Regions from separate parts of the Homo sapiens genome. Here region 2 is linked to region 1. The links are contacts of gene promoters, found by promoter capture Hi-C in blood cells and fetal thymus (Javierre and others, 2016). All regions are on one chromosome and are shown on one strand. Each heading gives the region's core, a stretch centred on a gene start or on the middle of the fragment in contact. The rest is flanking DNA. Distances are from core to core; before and after follow the strand shown. Region 1 holds the start of ARMCX5 (armadillo repeat containing X-linked 5). Region 2 overlaps ARMCX5-GPRASP2 (ARMCX5-GPRASP2 readthrough).

Region 1 (5,754 bases), core at 2,380-4,879:
ACTAGTCCCTGAGGTGCTGTGTCATTCAGGCAGAAACACAGGTTGTTGACATAGAAAAACTGAAGTAAGGGGTAGGGTATTAAAACTTTTAGAAATACTATATTCCAGGTATTATACATTTTTTATCTCCCTTGATCCTACCATTTTTATTACCATGACTCATATCAAGTGTTACGAGAAGTGACTTTCCCCAGAGAAAAAATACTGTGAATTACTTTTCAGGGACTCAAGCCCTGGAAATACTAAACATCCCAATATTTTTCTATCCCATCATGTGGACTTTCAATAGACTTTCAATGTCCTCACGTATATTGTTTGTATTTGCTCTTAAATAGCGAACTATACTACATTTTAAAATTAAAAAAACTATAAAATTTGAAATGTCTTATGTATAGAGATATATGTATATATACATATGGCTTTATATACATATAACTACATATCAATGTCTTTGGTATAGCTTTCTCCATATATAGCATACACAAGTTGTGCATAAATAGAATATAAATTATTTATAAGTGCATATATATATGCACACATATATACATACATACATACACACAAAAAAGGTGTAGGAAAATATTTATGATCTATATTGAAGACATGGGGTTAGTATGCTTGGCATACAAAGATCTCTTAACAAATAGAGAAATTGGCAAATAATAACAGAATGCACAAAGAACTATGTAAATATACAATAAATATTTGAAAATATGCTCAACCAAATGAAATGGCAAATAAAAATCCAGAGATATCATAATAAGGAAAAGAGGTAAGGTAATATATTACTCAGAGGGTAATCACGATTTTGCAAAGAAATGTATTTTACATGTTTATACATTGGAGTGTTTTGATATCTGAGAATACATTACAGAAAGAGAAACAATCTGAAGAATATGCACCAAGTGATTAATAGTGAATGGATAATTAAGTACCTAAAATTGCTACTAACAATTGCTAACATGTGTTGGATCTTTCAGCTCTCAAGCAATGCCGTGAGGTGTACTTAGAGAAAGCATTAAGTCACTTTTCTTTTTGGTAGAATGTAAGATTAGAAGTATGAGTATTCCTTTAACAATAAAAATCAACTTGAATCTCCAATGGGCTTTCTGGCTAAAAGTTGAAGGCCAAGTAAAAATCTTGGAGCAAGGGCATTTTTTTTTCTCCTTGCTTCAACTTACTGTTCATAGCGCCTGCCACCCAAAAAAGAGAAATGAAGCCTGGCGCTAATAATATACTTAGGTTATTCTCTGATATCCTCATTTTTTAAGGTGTATATAAGATACCTTTTCTGCTTTGGATCTTTCAAATGTCTGAAATGTTCCTAAGATAATTACATAAGTCATAAAACAGCAGTTATTATGAAAATGAATGATGATTTTAAAATTTTATCAGTTGATAGACATACTTTAGCAGTAAGATCATTACTCAAGGGGAACTACAAACCACTGCTCAAGGAAATCAAAGAGGAAACAAGCAGATAGAAAAACATTCCATGCTCATGGATAGGAAGAATCAATATCGTGAAAATGGCCATACTGCCCAAAGTAATTTATAGATTCAATGCTATTCCCATCAAACTACCATTGACATTTCTCACCGAATTAGAAGAAACTATTTTAAAATTCACGCAGAGCCAAAAAAGAGCTCGTATAGCCAAGACAATCCTAAGTAAAAAGAACAAAGCTGGAGGCATCACACTACCTGACTTCAAACTATACTACAAGGCTACAGTAACCTTGTAGAACAGCATGGTTCTGGTACAAAAACAGACACATAGACCAGTCGAACAGAATAGAGAACTCAGAAATAAGACTGCACATATACAGCTATTTGATCTTCGACAAACCTGACAAAAACAAGCAATGGGGAAAGGATTACCTATTTAATAAATGGTGCTGGGAAAACTGGCTAGCCATATGTAGAAAACTGAAACTTGACCCCTTGCTTACACCTTATACAAAATTTAACTCAAGATGGATTAAAGACTTAAATGTCAAACTCAAAACTATAAAAACCCTGGAAGAAAATTTAGGCAATACCATTCAGGACACAGGCACAGGCAAATTGCCAAAAGCAATTGCAACAAAAGCAAAATTTGACAAATGGGATCTAATTAAACTAAAGAGCTTCTGCACAGAAAAAGAAACTATCATCCGAGTGAACAGGTAACCTACAGAAGAGAAAATTTTTGCAGTCTATCTATCTGACAAAGGTCTAATATCCAGAATCTACAAGGAACTTACATTTACGAGAAAAAAACAAACAACCCCATTAAAAAGTGGGCAAAGGACATGAACAGACACTTCTCAAAAGAAGACATTTATGTGGCCAACAAACACATGGAAAAAAGCTCAACATCACTGATCATTAGAGAAATGCAAATCAAAATCACAATGAGATACCATCTCACACCAGTCATAACGGCAATTAATACAAAGTTAAGAAACAAGAGATGCTGGCAAAGTTGCAGAGAAATGGGAACGCTTTTACATTGGTGGGAATGTAAATTAGTTCAACCATTGTGGAAGACGGTGTGGCAATTCCTCAAATATCTAGAACCAGAAATACCATTTGACCCAGCAATCCCATTACTGGGTATATACCCAAAGGAATATAAATCATTCTATTACAAAGATACACGCACACGTATATTCATTGCCGCACTATTCACAATAGCAAAGACGTGGCATCAACCCAAATGCCCATCAGTGATAACATTAAGAAAATGTGGTGCATATACACCATGAAATACCATGCAGCCATAATAAAGAATGAGATCATGTCCTTTGTAGGGACATGGATCGAGCTGGAAGCCATTATCCTCAGCAAACTAATGCAGCAACAGAAAACAAATACTGCATGTTCTCCCTTATAAGTGGAAGCTGAACAATGAGAACACATGTACACAGGGAGGGGAAAAACACGCACTGGGACCTGTCAGGGGTTGTGGGGGGCGGTGAGGGAAAGCCTTAGGAAAAATAGCTAATGCATGCCAGGCTTAATACCTAGGTCATAGGTTGATTGGTGCAGCAAGCCACCACGGCACACGTTTGCCTATTTAACAAACACGCACATCCTGCACATGTATCCTAGAACTTAAAAAAAAAAAAAAGAAAATGAAAATTAAGGGCTGGGAGGGAGGACTCGAAGGAACACAAAGTTTGTGGAATCGATTAGTATGTATCCTCCTATCTCAGTCTTGACTCTCTTTGCTGACTTTCCTACCCTGGGCCCCACCCCGAGACCGCCCATTTCAGTGGGCCTCTGTGTTTGGAGAACGAACTTCGAAAGACTGGAACACTTCCGCCTGTCAGGCCAGAAGAGATTTCCTGACACCACAGCTGGAAACCCATGTGCATTTCAGTTCAGGAAAGAATGGTAGGCTTGGTGGGGGGAGCTCCCGCAAAAGGGGAACTAATACAGAAACACTCTGGTATTTGTCTGCCTCTCTTGTTCCAGCGCCGTTTTCCCTATATCCGGAATTCGTCCCTGCGCATTCCAATACCTGAAGCGGCCACAGGGTACAGGACAGGGAGCCCTCCGACAGAAAAGAGTCGCGGCGCTAAACAAAGCCTGATATCACTCCGCTTCCATAAGCCGGATCCCCATAAACTACGCTCTAGCTCCTCCCACTGCCGTTGTGGGTAACGCGGACGTGGAAGAACCTCGTCTGCGGAGGAAAAGGTAGATGTTAAATGGTAACTACGCGCGAGGTTCTGAGGAGCCCTGGGAACAGGAAGGAGAAAAGAATACCAAAAGTGACAACAGTTTGCCAATCGCAGTCTTTAATCTGATAAAGCGGTTATCTCGTCTTGAGTCCCAGGTGCCGAGTCAATCCCCATACACAGCCGCCGCCATTGCCTCGAGTCCTTGTGTCTGACTGTCTGTTCCTGCTGCTGTATGACACAGCACCTCGAGGCAAGGAAATAAGAAAACTGCCTCTGATCCAAGCAGAGAAGGTCAGTGAGAAGGTGCGCATCGCTTGGGGGTGGATGTGGGTATCAGAGGTGAACACTGGATACGCGACCTGGTCATGGGAGGCGGGCGGTGAGAAGGAGAGAGAGATGGGTAATTGGAATGGCACACAACAATTAAAAAAAAATGATCTACCTTTTGCTAGCTTGATTTCCATACACTCGGTTCACCTCAGACCATGCTTGGGAAGAAAAAGGTTGCAGCTTCTAGCAGGGAAAAGGCAGACTAGATGAGGAAGAGAGGGCTACTTCCACAGGCGAGGACAGTTGTCTGGGGAGCCCTGAGAGGGAGAGAATGTAAAAAGAGGTTGTAAATGTTTGATAATCAAGGCTCTGGATTTGAAAAGGGTCTCATGTCTTGGTTACTGGTCTGACCATTAATAACCACGTCTCTCTCTCTGTCTTTTCATTTGTTCTTTGGGTGTGTATCACGCGTTTTTATGTGTAAATCTGTTCCTAAGTTTGCAGCACTCCATGTTTCTGTAAAGATCTGTAGGGGACAGCAGACCTCAAGGGGAGAGGAGAAGGAAAAGAAAATTGGCCTGGTTTGTACAGAGTGGGCAGTACTTGGGAGGCAGTACTTGGAGGTGGTAGATGGCTAAGATTAGAGTAGGCAGGAGTGTAAGGGAGCCTCCAGAACTCTCTGCCAGCTTTCCTAACATGTCCTCCCTTACCCGCATTATGTTGCAGAAAATGATAGGCTTTGGGAGAGAGGAAGGAAACATAGGAACCCAGATGAAATATGGAAATAAATACTTTTCATTTTTTCCCCAGCCTCCGTGGTTTGTCTAGGCATTTCGTCCCTACTAACACCACTACTACTACCTTGTAGGGATGTTTGAGTTGTCTCTGTATAGGAATTGTCAGACTTTGAGAATAGAGCAGAGGGGCTTGGAGATTTAGGAGTGGGAGAAAAAGGGGAGATAGAAAATGTTTGCCAAACAGGTACTTATATCCAGAAAGAAACTGTGCCCTAGGTGCTGGTCTCTACCAAAAACAGCCTCAACTGTCTCCTGTGTCTTCATTTATTGGTCTCTGTTTTTGTGAATCCCTGTAGGTAGATCTGTCCCCAGGTCTGTGGAACTGTCAGTTGTGAAGTTTTGTAAAATGGTCACCCAACTTAAAACTAGGAAATTACGAAGAAGAGAAAATTGCCCTGTATCTGTTAAGGTTGGTGTAAAGGTACAGGGACAGGGGGGCAACTTCGACTAGAGAATTCCATCTCTTCTGTTTTGTCATTTTACCAATTATTCCCATCTGCCCCACCCCCTGCTGCTGCTGATTTAGTTGGGAGTCTTGGTAAGTTGTGGGGGTACAGAATGCTAAGCTGCCTTTCCCACTCTCCACTGCTTGTCCTGCTCTCACGCTTGAACCTAGTCTAATCTGAACGAGGGACATTCTAGGGCAATCACTGAAGAGGAAGATGGTGGGCAATAGGAAGGAGGAGGAGGAGTAGCCCTGAAACAAAGCAGTGGGGGAGAGGGGATAGGAGGAGGGAAACACTAGACAAAATCTGGAAAGGCAAGAATAAGGGCAAGGGACCAAGGTCTGTCACCAGGAGATCAGTTTCCACATTCTCCTGTTTGTTTATTTGTCCATAGGTCTGCCTGTAGATCTGCTGTAGGGCTTGTCACCATTGGAAGCAAGGTAAGGAGGAGAAAGTTACTCCAGATCAGTGCAGGTTGGTATGAGTGTGGGGATTGCCTGGGTAGACCTGTAGGATGGAGTAGTGGAGAGCTGCTTGGCTCCAGCAGGGGTCAAGAACCACTAAAGGGAT
Region 2 (5,754 bases), core at 1,890-4,389, 240 kb after region 1:
ACTCTCAAGCCACTACCATAATTGGAGGATGTGGAAGTGATCAGAAGTTACCAATTTTGCACACAAGCAAAACCCAAGGTAGCATGAGGGGAAAGGGCACAGTCATTGCTTGGAGGAACACAGGAAAGAGTTAGCAGATTGGGATATAGCAACAGTTGTATACATTCACGTTTATATGAAGCAGGTACGTCAAATCAATGTCAGAAGACCAGATCAATATCATATTTTTTAACAGCTTTCTTGCAGCTAAACCTACAGACAATATAATTTACGCATTTAAAGGGCATAATTTGATGAATTTTATTAAATGTATAGCATTGTTCAACCATCCCATAACTAAGTTTTAGACATTTCCATCACTCCAAAAAGTCTCATCATGCTTGAATGCAATTAATCCTTGCTCCCACCCCAAGCCTCAAACCACAGATATGCTTGGTGTCTCTGTGGATTTCTTTACTCCAGAAATTTCATGTAAATGCAATTATATAATATTTGGTCTTTTGCATATATCTACTTTCACTTCACATATGTTTTGAAGGTTCATCTATATTATGGCATATCCATACTTCATTCCTTTTATTGGCAAAGAATAATCGTAATATATCACATTTTAAACACATTAATCAATTAGTGGACATTTGGGTTGCTGCCAGTTTTGGGCTATTGCAAATAAGGTTGCTATGTACATTTGTGTACAAGTTTTTATGTAGATAAATGTGTTGATCTTGGGTGTGTACCTAGGAATGGAATTGCTGGGTCATATGATAACTCTATCCATGTGAGGAACTGCCAGATGATTTTCATGACTGATTGTCTTGAGAAATACAGACTTAGTTTTTCTTGTGATTAGACTAGTGTTAAAGGTTTTGAGAAAGAATGCCACAGAGTTGAAGTGCCCTTCTTGTCACATCATATCTGGGTTTACATAATGCCCACATGAAGTCACTGGTGATAATGTTTCATCACTTGGTGAAAGTGGTGTCTGTCAAGTTTCTAATAACCATTTTTCATTCCCTACTCTGTTCTTTAGGAGAAAGTCACAAAATCAGCCCTACCCTCAGCAAGTGGGGTGCAAAATTAAGCTTGACCTCAGGGAGAGCAGATAGCTACATATTTCACTTAGAATTATTTGAAAAAGACAATTTTCCTTCTCTCACCTATTTCTTTATTAATTCAAACTTTTGTTTATATTGGTATGGATTCATGTATACCTATGTTAAATGCTGGGATATTTTATTGAACAAATGCATCACAATAGAAACTCCAACATCTTGGTATCTGTGGTGCAGACTGGAACATGAGTGCCAGGGAGATTGGAGCACTCAGATTCCTGGCAGCCTCAGGGCACAAAGCTTTAATGAAACTCCAGGTTCTATTACCGAGCAGGCATTAACAACATAGTTCCCCTGATTTACTTAACCTCTCCTAACTTCCTATAACCTGACCTAAACTATGGATTTCACAATAGGTTACCTGGATGAAGGTGAAGGTTAAAGGATATACAACTTAGAGTATGATATGATTACAATTTTAAAAACATTAATATCATCTCTCCCAGAAGAAATACCTGTTGTCTGACTGAGCCCCTGTCTGCCATCTTAAAAGACAGTCAGTTCACATGGTTCCCATACACAGGTCTCTTGGCCCTAGGGGCAGGATTTCATCATTATCCTCATCATCACCAAGAGGGGTTGTTGAGTGAGCATCCATGAGGGATTGTAAAGTGACTAGTCCCTAAGCCTTGGTGGCTCATCATCCGCAGAAGTCCCCGAGTACATGCAATGTTTCTTAACTTTCTTTCATTATTTATGATCCAAAGGAGGCTTTTTAGACATTCATTTTTTTTCTCGTTAGCTCCTTCCTGCCTGGAACATGAAATTTTAATAGCACAGATATAGTGTTAACTGTTTGTGTGCTGTGTGGTTCATTGTAGTGCCACAAACCATTGTAACGTCTACCATCTCCCCACCCTCCAGAATCAATTTTCAGCCCCTTGGGGACAATATCTCCTTTATTGAGAATGCATGGACATTGTGATGATGGCAAAAGCTGTAACTTCATTCCTGTCCCTTACTTGATGTATGACACTGGAATCCTTTCTTAGCCTCTGTCAGCCTGTTCTTGGTCATCTGTAAAAGGAACTCACAATGCCTTCCTCACAGAACTGTTCTGTGGGGTAAATTGGAAATCCTGTACAGAGTAGATGGCACCTAGTAGGACTTCAACAAATGTTTGTCCTGGCCCACCTTTTCCTTCCCTCTCAGAGAAATGATGACTGTCACCTAATCCAACCAGCATAACTGCCACAAAGACCACCAGGAAATGGAGCAGGAAGTAGAACATTGTGAATGAAGCACTGGGGCCATTTCTGTGTTGCAGGAGAACTTTGCTGAAGGATTGAGGGAGACTGAAGAAGCTCATTGAACCATTTTCTTTAATTCCTTGTCATTTTCTCCTCCCTTGTTTGATCTTCTAGATTGATATTGGAAAAGCAGTTTCCCATTGAGTCTCAAATGAAGAGAGTGCAGATGAAGAGGAGGTAGGAGTCACAAGCCCTTGACCCTCATGCTAGACCCATTACCACCCACAGGACCTTGCAGTGGGATTTCATCTGCACCATCAGCTTCTTCAGAGAGAGAGGTTGTTGAGTGAGTACGCATAAGGGCATAATCCTAGCAACATAAAAAAACGACAAGTGTTTAAGTCCTAGATGGTCATCATCTCTAAAAGGAGATCATATGTTGTCCTTTGAGGAGAGTAAGAGTTACATCCCCACTCCTGATCATTACTAGATGCCTCTGCAAAATTGATTTTCCATCAGTGAGTCTGAGTTGGTAATCTGTAAACTGGAAATAATGATGCCTTCCTCACAGACTTCTTGTGAGAGAATTACACAAGGCATACAATTGTTTCCATACTTTTAGCTAAGTTAGTGCTGTTATCCAGCTTTTCATCCTCTGAAGATAATGTTTCTGAGATTTCTCTAATAAGATGACTTTGGGATTGTTTTGATATGACTAGACATGTTGTTGTGACCATGCTTGTATACCTTTTCTGGTGCAACATGTGTGTTTCTCTCTATAGTCCGTGATTAAGAGAGTAGCATCTGATGGGGGCCTCATTTTGTTTTCTCATAGATGTTGACAAATGTCTCTGCAAAGACATTGTACCAATTTGTTCTTCCCCATTAGTGTATGAAGTTCTTTTCACCTACATTTTCCATTTAAATGGGATGTAGTGTAAACACACACTATCAGTCATCAGGGTTTATTTCTAAACTCAATAATTATTCTATGATATATTCTGAGGCATAAATGTAAACTATGTCATTTATTTAAAAATGTGATAAAAAAATGAAAAGGAATCTAACATTATAACGCCAGGATATCAGATCAGCAGCAAATATTTAAAAAGTCTTATGAAACTTATTTGTTCAAATCTGTAAAAGCAGGTGCTCTCTTCTCATAGTTGGTTGGGATACATATTAATAAAAGGATTGTACAGTTCAATTAGACAGTACAGCAATGTTAAATTTTCATGCTTTTTGAGGAAACAGTTACACTTGTGGGAATTTAGCCTCCTGATATAGCAGGAAGAGCTCTGGCAGTCATCACTCATCTGTCCACATGACTCAGGAAGCTGCCCATTTTCTTTGCTGACTCAGAGCCTTCAAGTCCCCTCTTCCTGAGGCACTGTTTTACAATGTAGGTTTTATTATTTAGGATAGTGAGGCCAAGGGATCAGGAGACAACTGCCATTAAGGAGATAGTTTATTACTCAAAGTTCCCAAGAGGGGGCGCTCTCCATTCCACATAAGTCCACTCAGAGTCCACCAATTTAGGCAGGAGGTAAACGTGGCAAAAGCCTTTATTGTGGTTTTCCGTGGTAAATGACAGACAAGGCAGGATAATTAGGCTTAGGACTGACTACTCGGAATAATTTCAGTAGGTTCTGTGGTGCAGGGGCTGTCCTAAGTTGTCTGGAATTGTTACTGGAAAGAGGTTCTGATCCAGACCCCAAGAGAAGGTTGTTGGATCTCACTCAGGAAAGAATTTGGGGCAGGTCCATAGAGTAAAGTGAAAGCAAGTTTATTTAGAAAGTAAAAGAATAAAAAAATGGCTACTCCATAGGTAGAGCAGCCCCGAGGGCTGCTGGTTGCCCATTTTTATGGATATTTCTTGATTATATGCTAAACATGGGGGTGGATTATTCATGAGTTTTCCGGGAAAGGTGTGGGCAGTTCCCAGAACTGAAGGTTTCTCCTCATTTTATACCATATAGGGTAACTTCCTGATGTTGTCATGGCATTTGTAAACTGTCTTGATGCTTGTGGGAGTGTCTTTTAGCATGCTAATGCATTATAATAGCAGTGTGGACAACCAGAGGTCACTTTCATAGCCATTTTGGTTTCGTTGGGTTTTAGCTGGCTTCTTTACTGCAACCCGTTTTATCAGCAAAGTCTTTATGACCTCCTATCTCATCCTGTGACTAAGAATGCCTTGACCTTCTGGGAATACAGCCCAGTAGGTCTCAACCTTATTTTACTTAGCCCCTATTCAAAATAGAGTTTCTCTGGTTCAAATGCCTCTGACAGAATCAGGTTCTGGTATGATTAGGGGAGGGTACTATTGGCCTGGAGTATAAGAGCCCAGTAGAGGAGGTGTGAGTGTGTATGTGTAGGTGCTCTGTATTAGTTAGTTTGAATATAAAAGGTGTGCTCCTTAGGTGAGTTCTTTGTTAGGACTAGGAATTAGCTGACCCTGGACAGAGTAGTCCCTCCCCAGTTAGCAAGGCCTCAGATGCCAGAGCATCAAACATACAAGAAATAAGAAAAAAATGCTACCACTGTTATCTATCCTTTGATCCAAACAGAAAAATCTGTCTCACGTTGAATACCCACTCTAGGTGGACCATCCAGGAGCCACTCCAAGCTTTGATATGGAGCAGTTCTCAGGTTCCTACTCCTAGAGGGACCTGTAGACCTCTGACATCATTCCTGTCTGGGAGAAATCTCTCTTCCTCTCCCTTCTCTGTGTCCTCAGAGGTCCTCCCTTTCCTACAAGATAATAAGCAGCCCAATCCTTTCCTTAAGTTTTCATAAAAGATGGAAGAAATACTGGCTTCATGTCTGAAGCTTCTGCTTCTAGCTCTGCCACAAACCATTCCTGAAGCAAGGGGAAGGGGCACCAAACTTGGATCCTTGCTGGAAATGCCACCAGCACCTCAGGGTGCCCACATTGACAGATTCTATTCCTGGCTCTAGCAGTAGGCCTGGTGAGCAATGTCTTTGCCATCCTTCTCTGGTAAGGAATATGTGCTTTGTAGTCACATCCGTCTGTGGAGAGAGAATAGCAACACCTCACTAGCAGGGCTGTTATGTGGGTTAATTCCAACTACTAACGCGAAGAATGTAGCACTAGGCTTGGCTAAAAATCGGCTTCATAAATATTAGCTATCTTTCCTCTTTGTGGCCAAAAGTTCATATGACTCCTAACCTGCCCCCTCACCCAAGCTTCCTTAACCAAATTGCAGGTCAAAATCACTTTGGGATCCCTTTCTAAACCCTCATTTGAAACTCTTTTGTTGGTGAAATAGGACTTCTGTATTGAAGGCCATTCAAGTTATGAAGTTGTAATAATGTGGACCTCAAAAAATATATACACCAATTTGGCACCAGCAGTGTATCCAAGTGTTCATTGCCCCTTTGTTCCACAGACACCAGGTGTTACCAGCTTTTGTCTTTTTTGTTTTGTT

What was found. The method cuts DNA at HindIII sites, captures the fragments that hold promoters and counts their contacts. A CHiCAGO score of 5 or more calls a contact.
Region 2: a contact is called between a fragment that was not itself captured here and the fragment with the promoter of ARMCX5 in region 1, in 3 of 17 cell types (megakaryocytes, M1 macrophages and endothelial precursors). The highest score is 6.2, in megakaryocytes.

The regions. Positions count from the first base shown.
Region 1 is chrX:102,595,886-102,601,639 of GRCh38, forward strand. ARMCX5 (armadillo repeat containing X-linked 5) reads left to right here and starts at 3,630. Exons shown (of 4, transcript NM_001168478.2): 1 at 3,630-3,962; 2 at 5,035-5,147; 3 at 5,579-5,624. It overlaps ARMCX5-GPRASP2 (ARMCX5-GPRASP2 readthrough), which reads left to right and starts at 3,630. Exons shown (of 19, transcript NR_146584.3): 1 at 3,630-3,962; 2 at 5,579-5,624. RefSeq lists enhancers at 3,676-4,447, 3,880-3,929. The HindIII fragment of the contact is 9,703 bases long and covers 1-5,754 here.
Region 2 is chrX:102,837,325-102,843,078 of GRCh38, forward strand. ARMCX5-GPRASP2 (ARMCX5-GPRASP2 readthrough) reads left to right here. Exons shown (of 19, transcript NR_146584.3): 11 at 2,477-2,648. The region is part of intron 2 of LINC00630 (long intergenic non-protein coding RNA 630); the gene reads left to right. Among named protein-coding and RNA genes, the nearest start is that of LINC00630, 71 kb to the left of the region's middle. The HindIII fragment of the contact is 3,579 bases long and covers 1,351-4,929 here.